Linked DNA regions of Homo sapiens: region 1 is linked to region 2. The links are contacts of gene promoters, found by promoter capture Hi-C in blood cells and fetal thymus (Javierre and others, 2016). All regions are on one chromosome and are shown on one strand. Each heading gives the region's core, a stretch centred on a gene start or on the middle of the fragment in contact. The rest is flanking DNA. Distances are from core to core; before and after follow the strand shown. Region 1 holds the start of C1R (complement C1r). Region 2 holds the start of MIR200CHG (MIR200C and MIR141 host gene).

Region 1 (4,695 bases), core at 80-2,579, 130 kb before region 2:
TTGGTGGATCTTGCACCTTCTGTGTGCCTGCTGTCTAACTACTGATGATGTGGTCACTGCCTGATGGGGAACTGCATCAGCTCTGTGAATTCTTGCAATCTATTGCCTGGGAAAGTGTCTTGCACATTAAACAGGTAGCCCATAAATGGATGAACGGGGGTGGGGGCAGAAGGGTGGAGGTTGGAGGGATTCATCTAATAAGGGAAACAAGCAGAACAGCCTACAAAGGCTTAAGAACGCAGAGTCCTGCTCTGCAGCCCAAGCCCCTCCGTGGGATGAAGTGCCATCAGATATTTGGTGCCATGGAGAGTTGATGAAGAAAGCCTTCCAAAAACAATGAAATTGTTTTTTAATTTATTTTAACTTTTAGAGACGAGATCTCACTATGTTGCCCAGGCTGGTTTCGAACTCCTGGGCTCAAGAGATCTTCCCACCCTGGCCTCGAAAAGTGCTGGCATCACAGGCATGAGCCACCACACGTGGCCAAGAGCAAAAGTTTTAAAGCAGGACACTATGGCCTGATGGACAGGAGAGACTAGGGTCCCTCCTCCCTCCCAGGGGCCTGGCTTCATCTCAGAAAAACCGAGTCCCTCTTGCTCCACACCCGCATCCTTAGCTTCAGCCCTGGCAGTTGTGTTGAGCAGATGCTAAGGAGATGGGGACATTTTACCCCCTCCGCAGCCGCCCCAGAGGGTCTCAAACCCAGGGCTGATTTAGGGTTGCCCTGACATGGCCAACCCTATTCTATGTCCAAGTGTCATTCATGGCTAAAGCAGGCCAGGGCCCCAAGGCAACCAAGCTCCTCTCTCCTCTGCCCGCTCCCACACACCCTCCTCTGCCCCAGTGTTCCTATCATTACGTCCTGGGCATTGAAACCCGGGCCATTCTTGGACCAGGGCTGTGGGCTGAATGAGGGCAGGAAGAACAGGGTCAATGGGAAAGGACAGCCCAGAAAAGAGAATTCACCACCACCTGTGGTCTCCCACTGCTTTGGTAGGAACCTTGTAAACACAGCAGCAGCCCCCAGGAAAGTCTTGGAAGAAGGGAGAAGCTGATCAGATTTAGAGACTGAGACATCTGGGCCTCCAACCCAAGGCTCCCCGGGCCCTAAAAAGCCAGACTCCCGTCTCCTTAGCCCTTTCCCTCACCGACCAGCAGGTGGCACCACAAACAGGGATTTCAAAACCAAAACTAAATTAAAGTGGAAACTCAGATCTTTTGTTTATGCAAATAGTTCATTCCCTCCAACATTCCTCCGGGAATGGTCCCCCCTCCACTCCACAGAAAACCCTCCCCTCCCTGCTGTGCATGACGCGGGCTCCCTCTGCACACAGTGCACGAAGACGCTGTCGGGAGAGCCCAGGATTCAACACGGGCCTTGAGAAATGTGAGTAAGGGTGATGGGCAACCAGGTGGGAGGGAGAAGCCAGGGGAGAAGCCAGGGCATGGGAGGCAATTCAGGGAGACAGGAACACCCTTCTCTCTTCACACACCTCATCAGTTCCACTGTGCACACGCGTGGACACACACAACACACGCCCCATCCCTCCTCCTAGGGATCAGAGGAGACTTCATACATAGATGCTCATGCCATGGTCCTTTCTTCCCTCTGGGCTCTTGGCAGGGAGCAGCGAGAGGAGGGGACCCCTTGCCCAGGACGGGACACTCTGTGCCTGTGTCCCCCACTCCACAGATGGTTTCTCCCAGACGCTCTTGCTGAACCTGTGGGAGCCCTTTCAGAGACCCACGGGTGGAAACCCTCACCCTCCATTAACTGGTCCCAAGCCAGTCCTATTCCTGGAAGGGGAGGGGAGGGACGCGTCCGGGCAGGGGAGGAGGCTGGAAAGGGAGTGTGAGGGGAGTGTGGTGGCCTCTGGACTGGACACTGCCCTGGAGAGTGACCCGATGCAGCAGCTGCACAGGCCATCCTCCCCACCCACGCACCCCTGCTGAGAACATGTCTGTGAGGTTCAGGGTGGGCAGAGAGGAGAATGCCCAGTGGTATGGCCGTCTCATCCCCTGCCACAGCCACTGCCCACATGGCAAGAGTGCTGAACCCCTCCAGCTCCAGATACTCTCTTTTGTTTTGGCAGGTGGCTCTTGTACCTCCTGGTGCCGGCCCTGTTCTGCAGGGCAGGAGGCTCCATTCCCATCCCTCAGAAGTTATTTGGGGAGGTGACTTCCCCTCTGTTCCCCAAGCCTTACCCCAACAACTTTGAAACAACCACTGTGATCACAGTCCCCACGGGATACAGGGTGAAGCTCGTCTTCCAGCAGTTTGACCTGGAGCCTTCTGAAGGCTGCTTCTATGATTATGTCAAGGTAGGGGCAGGATGGGCGGGCAGAGGGGAGACAAAACTGGGCCCTCTGGGATCTGGGATCTGTATGGCATGCACACCCCCAGACACAGCCCAGCCCCACAAGAGCTGATGGCCAACGGCCTCTCTGAGAGCCCGGGGATGCCCTGGATGGGCGCTCACTGGTGTAGAGGCCCTCGGTGAGCACTGAGGGGAGAAGCACAGAGAAGGAAGGGGACAGGACCCACTCAGGAAATTCAACATCCACTGAGTCAGGAAAACCTTCCCCATCTGCTGTCTAGCTGAGAGTCTTTGGGAAACCACTGTGCCTCAGCTTCCCTGTCTCCAAGGAAATGATTGACATGGCTGCCTGCTTCAACAGGAACACAGGGACATGAGGAGGAGAAATGTGGGCTCTGGCAGCACAGGAATAGCCTTCAGCAAGGACAGTGTGCTCAGAACCCTCACCTCTGTGGCAACCAAGGGTACCTTCCCAGGCCTGTCTTTCTCTATCCAGTAAAAATGAGATTCAGGGCTCAAGCAGAGCCTGCGAAGGTCCAACAACTACCATTCCCAGGAGACCCCTGGAGATTATGCGTGAATTACATGACAATGGCACGTCTTACCGGCTCAGAAGACTTGGCGAGTGTGCAGTGTTGGGGGAGGGCGTTTGCTGGCAGAGTCAAGGAGAGGTTGAGGAGGCTGTGAGGAGGAAGGAAGAGGGACGAGGCAGTGCCTGCTGACACTGAGATGGGTGGGCTTCAGGGCTCATGTTCCGCCGAGGGCATCAGGAGGCACTCGAGGTGTGAATGGTTTGATTAGGCTGAGGTGGAATCTGAAGACAGAAAATAAAGCGGAGCTGTCTGAGCTCTGGGAATGAGGGGCAGGTAAAGGCTGGGTACAGACAACCAGGACCCCAGGGGAACAGGCCATAGGAGGTGGTGGGGATGGAGAAGGACCTGAAACCTGCCAGAGGAGCAGAAAACAGGGAAAGGGTGAGGTACCCAGTCCAGGACAACACGCAAAGAGTGAGTCAGTGGGAGACTCAGGGAACAGCTGAAAGTCACATGGGGAAGTTTGCAGCAGCTGAGCCCAGCAGGTAGTGACCAGCCAGAGCCATTGTGGTGCATGATGCACTCTGGGCGAGACAAGGAGGACCATCACTGAGCCACCACGTGCGCCACTCCGCAACAGATCTTCTTCCTACCCCCTGTCCTTCTTCCACCAGATCTCTGCTGATAAGAAAAGCCTGGGGAGGTTCTGTGGGCAACTGGGTTCTCCACTGGGCAACCCCCCGGGAAAGAAGGAATTTATGTCCCAAGGGAACAAGATGCTGCTGACCTTCCACACAGACTTCTCCAACGAGGAGAATGGGACCATCATGTTCTACAAGGGCTTCCTGGCCTACTACCAAGCTGTGGGTGAGTAGCCCCCCAGGGATCCCTTTTCTCTGACCTCAGCCATATTGAATGGGGGGCCAAGAAAGGGAATCTTGAATGCAAAGAAGCCGAAAGCCTGGCTTTCCTTGTTCCTCCCCTCGAGAGAGCTTTTCCTAACGAGGCCTGTCAACCTGGGCTCTGTCCCCATGGAGCAGTCCCCAGAGAGCATTGGAGAGGCCTGGAGGTCCAGGTGGCCTAAAGATGCCTTTGTCTTTAGGTCTCTGGTGAGTGACCTCCCTAAGATCAGAGCCACTACTCAGGTCTCCCAGCAGAAGCTTAACCCTCCTTCCTGAATGCCTTCCAGACCTTGATGAATGTGCTTCCCGGAGCAAATCAGGGGAGGAGGATCCCCAGCCCCAGTGCCAGCACCTGTGTCACAACTACGTTGGAGGCTACTTCTGTTCCTGCCGTCCAGGCTATGAGCTTCAGGAAGACAGGCATTCCTGCCAGGGTGAGCCAGAGTGGTGTAGCAGAGGGGAAGGGGTTGAGCCAGGGCTTGCTGGGCCAGCTGGAGTCCCCCGTAATGCCCTGTGGCTCTGCTCTCACAGCTGAGTGCAGCAGCGAGCTGTACACGGAGGCATCAGGCTACATCTCCAGCCTGGAGTACCCTCGGTCCTACCCCCCTGACCTGCGCTGCAACTACAGCATCCGGGTGGAGCGGGGCCTCACCCTGCACCTCAAGTTCCTGGAGCCTTTTGATATTGATGACCACCAGCAAGTACACTGCCCCTATGACCAGCTACAGGTACAGCCGTCCTACCCCTGAAAGACCCCTTCCTCCCCTTCTGTCTGCACTTGGCTCCTCTTGTCCCAACTTCCTCCTGGATCCCCTGGCCAGCTGGGGCAGGAACGGCCAACATCACCCATGGGCTGGGTAAGTTCCCACACAACTAGAATTGGGTCATGGGGATCCCTTTTCACCTTCCCCTGAAAACACACATAAGGCAGGATTTCATCAC
Region 2 (4,240 bases), core at 968-3,467:
AGTGCGTGATTTCTCAGTGATTTCCTACAGTGTTGTTCCCTCCCTCAAGGCTGGGAGGAGATAAACACCAACCCAGGAATTCTCAATAAATTTTTATTACTTAACCTGAAGTCAAGGCTTCACGTGTTCATGAACTGGGTAACTGGCAGCAAGCATGCGCACGTTCACATGTGCGCTCCTGGGTCTGTCTTTGTGTGTGCCAGCAGGGGGCGCAAAAGAATCTGGCTGGGGCGGCTAAGGGGAAGCAAGGCCTGGGCTCCGAAACAGGACCCAAGCTGGGAAGGCTGGCCCTGAGTTCTCGAGGCCCAGCTGTGCTCTTCACACACCCTCCATTTCTCCCACATCACCCATTTTTTTAAGGCTGGACAGCCATGGCTTTGCTGAGCCAGATTAAAAATCTGATGACCCCAACAGGAGCTGCTTCCTTGGCAGCAGGGTTCCTTGTGGCTGTGGGGAGCCTGCCTGTGCCTGTTGAGGCACTTCTGTGCCCAGAAGCCCAGTGGATCGCGTGGCCTGCTGTAGGCCCCCCAGACTCCATTTCTCAGTCACCAGGCGTGAGGAGCTGCTAGCTAACAGGCCTCCCCTGGGGAGGTGGGCTTTTCATGCCCGCAGTTCCGGGGCCAACAGAACAGGTGCCTGTCTGTTCAGTCCACAGATAAGCTGACACTTATCTTCCCAAGACAGGCCTTCCCGAATCTCAGGCACCAGAGAAACAGAGCCACCGTTTATACCTGAATCTCCCACTACTGCCCATTTCCCATCCCTGCGGGGAGACAAGGAAGATGTGGAACTCAGACAAAACATAGGTGCAAAGTATGTCCAGGAACTGCCAAATGCAGATAGGGCAGCAGGTGGATCTGAACAGAGGGACTGGGTTAATCTGCTTCGATTTTTAAGATATTTTTCTCTGCTTGGGGTTGAGTATCATGAAAGACAAAGCAGACGTCGCAGCCCCAATCCTGAGTTGCTGGGAGGCTAAGATGAGATAAACAACTAGACAAAAGACAGGTCAAGTGACTTGGATCAGTCTTCCTCATGTTCCCCTTCACACTTTATTTATTTCATGCTCCCAAGGCGGGAAGACAATGGAGGTGCCTAGGGAACCAGTGTTTCCACATCTTGCTGCAGCTGTAAAGGCAGCCATTTTGTCTCCTTCCCATTGTTCCCCTTTGCCTAGTGATTCGTCCCCCATCCAGAGGGGTGAAGGTCAGAGGTTGTTGGTCAGTAGTCCTCCATGGTCTTCAGGGCTCCCTGAAGGTTACTGCCGAGAGAACCCACCCGGGAGCCATCTTTACCAGACAGTGTTAGGAGCTTCACAATTAGACCATCCAACACTGTACTGGAAGATGGACCCAGGGCCGGCCGACAGAGAACTACGGTGCGCGCTCACCAGTTGCTACAGGGGACCCTGGCCACAGGCCAGGTGAGGTCTCTTGAGAGGGGGCGAGCCAACCCCAAGCTCAAGGTCGACTGTGGGTTCTGGATCCACCAGGTGACAAATCGCACTGGGTGGGAGGAGGGGCTGGGGCCCATTGTGTCCCTTAGTGGCAGCCAGCCAACAAGAACCACCCCTTGTGCAACGCTCTCAGCTCAAGACGAGGGGCTTCCGGGGTGCGTGGGAAGTGGGGAGGGGGCTGCAGCCAGCTAAGGGCTGGGGACCTGAGGCGATGGATGTTGCTGACACAGGGACAGGGGCCTCCATCATTACCCGGCAGTATTAGAGACTCCCAACCGCACCCAAACACTGCTGGGTAAGACGAGGGCCCCCGCCCAGCCCGCCCACCTTGGGTCAGGCAGCTTCAGGCCCAGGATCCCTGCGGAAAAGCTGCAGATCCCTGGCTCCCATCCCCCCACCACCCGAGTCCCTGGGGACACTTCCTGGTGAGCCCTGCTGCCCGCCACCAGCCACACCCTGGGTCGCTGATCACGAGGCCCAGGTTGCAGTCCAAGCAGGCCCTCCGAAGCCCCTCGACCGTCGGCCCGCCGCCTCTGAGCCACCTTCCCCTACCCCCGGCAGCCTTTCCCGACCCGCGACACACACCGATTTACCCACCCTCATCCCCCCTCTGCAGTCCCAAGCTCAGCCCAGGACCTCTCCCCTGGTGGCCTTTACCTGTCACCGGGCCCACCTGCCCCCAGAGAGTGGGTGCTGGGGAGACGAAGGGGCTTTAAGGCCCCAGATTCCACGGCCTAGAGCCCGCCCTGGCCTCCGCTCTTCCTCCTTCCTTCTCCGCCTGCCGGGCAGCCAGCGCAGGCTCCTTACCTGGGCCCCGCCTGCCACCCTGCGCACAGGTGTGTCCTCCTGCCATAGGCTGCCCCCCCACTGCCTTAACCCCTTCCCTCCCAGCGCCAGCCACGGGCACCTCCTCTAAGGCTTGGCCACTCCTCTAGGCCTCCCACCCTCTCCCAGGGGCCTCTTTTCTCCAACCTGCCTAGTCTCACCCCTGTCTCCAGAGGTACAAAAAGCGGGGGCTGTCCTTGGGTCCCCTCCCCACAGCAGATGCTGCCCCCAGGACTAGCCCATTCCTCTGTGGCCTCAGACCCTGCCCACAGCGGAGCTGCAGGCCAGAGAGATCCCTGAGGTCAGCGAGGGGTCAGCTGGGCAGGAGTTGGGCTGTGCCGCCCCGCAGTGCCCAGCCTGTGCTGGGATCCCCTGAGGGAAAGGGGAGGGAGAAGGCCCCGCCAGGCCTGTGAAGGGCAGGCGGGTCCCAGCAAGGTGTCGCTAGTGTGAAGTTACCCACCGCTACCCAGAGACCCCAGCTGGCCCGGAGCATCAGCCTTGCCCCTCGATTGAGGCCTGCAGAGGGAACGATCGCGCTCCACTCTCCGGACCGAGCTGCTCCCGGACCCACCTCACAGCACAGCCCTCAGTGGAGTCCAAGTCCCACCCCAAGGGCAGGTAGCCCAAGGGCGGTTAGAGGAGGTGGGACTTGCCTTTGTGCAGCTGCGGCTTGTATAGAAAGGGCGTTGCTGGGAGAGGGGACCTGGGCCCGACAGGTGATTGCCCCACCCGTGCCCTGGAGGGCCACAGCCCCAGGGAGCTATTGGGTTGCTCAATCCCTCGCTGTTCTCTCTCCCAGGCTTTGTTTGCTTCCTTCTTAATACCCGCCTGCAATTATTTGATGCTTGTGATCGGTTTGTGAATCTGTCTCCCTGACCAGCCTCCTAAGTTCCAGGAGGTCGGGGGACTGTGAATGCCTGTGACGCCGGGGGCTCTGTAAGGATTTGCTGAGTAATGCACGCCCAGCCTCTGGGCTTTGGGACCTGTGCTGTCTCAGCCTTTCCAGGAGTGGGCGCCAGCACTTCCTGAGGGATGACTCCCACCGGCTTTACTCCCCAGGACACCAGTGTTTCAAATAAAGAAGAAACCCCACTCCTGACATGGGGGAAGGAAGAGGGGACAAAAAACAAAGCACTCTTCACGTCAGCCAGCTCTTCAAACTCTGCCCAAGAGGATAAGGGCAGCAGCGGCCTGGATGAGGGGAGGAGCTGGGCGTGCCCGGGTGCTCTGAGGAGCCTGTCCCTGTTCCCGCCAGAGGGGACGCAGCCGGGCTGGCCTCAGGTCTGCGCTTCCGGCTGTTAACTACTCTTCTTAGTTCAGATCTGGAACTCAGCATCAGGGGAGTGTGATCAGGGCCCCCCTGAGGGTGGCCCCAGCTGCAACTCCAGGGTAAGGAGTGTGGGCTCTGGGGTCAGACAGCCTGGGTTCGAATCCCAGCCTCACTGTTCCATAGCCCTGTGACCTTGGGCAAGTGACCAAGTTACTTAGTTTTTCTGTCCCTCAGTTTCCGCCACGGTAAAATGAGAATGACAGAAGTGCCTAGACTGAACTAACGTGTGTAGTCTTTTAGTGCCTGGGCACATGGCAAGCGTGTGATGAGTCACTGTGCCCGTCTTATCGTCAGCCGTCATCTCGGTGCTTTTCACAACCACCCTGTTATGATCGCCCTCCATTTTAAAGAAGGAGACTGGGGAGCTTCACCCACGGTCACCCTCCCACGTGCGAGGCGGAGTCCCGACCCACGTCCGTCTGACGGAAGGCGGAGCTTTCACGCGAGGCACGCACGGAGGCACACACAGTTACCCATCCTGCCCTGCCCTCTGGCCGCCCACTCACTGGGCAAGCAAAGGGCTCAGAGGCGACACACAGTGATCCCAGGGCTTTATTTACAAGAGGAGAAGGGTTGGCCCTGCCTGGGGCCTGGCTGGGCTATATACAGGGTCAGGGAGAGGTGGGGGG

Evidence for each region. Contacts are between HindIII fragments. The CHiCAGO score rates a contact against its expected background, and 5 or more counts as called.
Region 1: a contact is called between the fragment with the promoter of C1R here and the fragment with the promoter of MIR200CHG in region 2, in 16 of 17 cell types (naive CD8 T cells, erythroblasts, M2 macrophages and 13 more). The highest score is 16.5, in naive CD8 T cells.

The regions. Positions count from the first base shown.
Region 1 is chr12:7,089,079-7,093,773 of GRCh38, reverse strand. It overlaps C1R (complement C1r), which reads left to right and starts at 1,329. Exons shown (of 11, transcript NM_001733.7): 1 at 1,329-1,387; 2 at 2,094-2,322; 3 at 3,526-3,718; 4 at 4,041-4,187; 5 at 4,285-4,481. The coding sequence starts at 1,386. RefSeq lists an enhancer at 987-1,281. The HindIII fragment of the contact is 12,054 bases long and covers 1-4,013 here.
Region 2 is chr12:6,961,222-6,965,461 of GRCh38, reverse strand. It overlaps MIR200CHG (MIR200C and MIR141 host gene), which reads right to left and starts at 2,217. Exons shown (of 2, transcript NR_135032.1): 1 at 2,114-2,217; 2 at 1,015-1,261. It overlaps MIR200C (microRNA 200c), which reads right to left and starts at 1,763; the gene lies at 1,696-1,763. MIR141 (microRNA 141) reads right to left here and starts at 1,365; the gene lies at 1,271-1,365. LOC105369634 (a long non-coding RNA gene) reads left to right here and starts at 2,363. Exons shown (of 2, transcript XR_931601.2): 1 at 2,363-2,923; 2 at 3,341-3,830. It also overlaps PTPN6 and PHB2. RefSeq lists enhancers at 471-520, 2,303-3,104, 3,346-3,555, 3,364-3,882, 3,105-3,904 and 1 more. The HindIII fragment of the contact is 14,599 bases long and covers 1-4,240 here.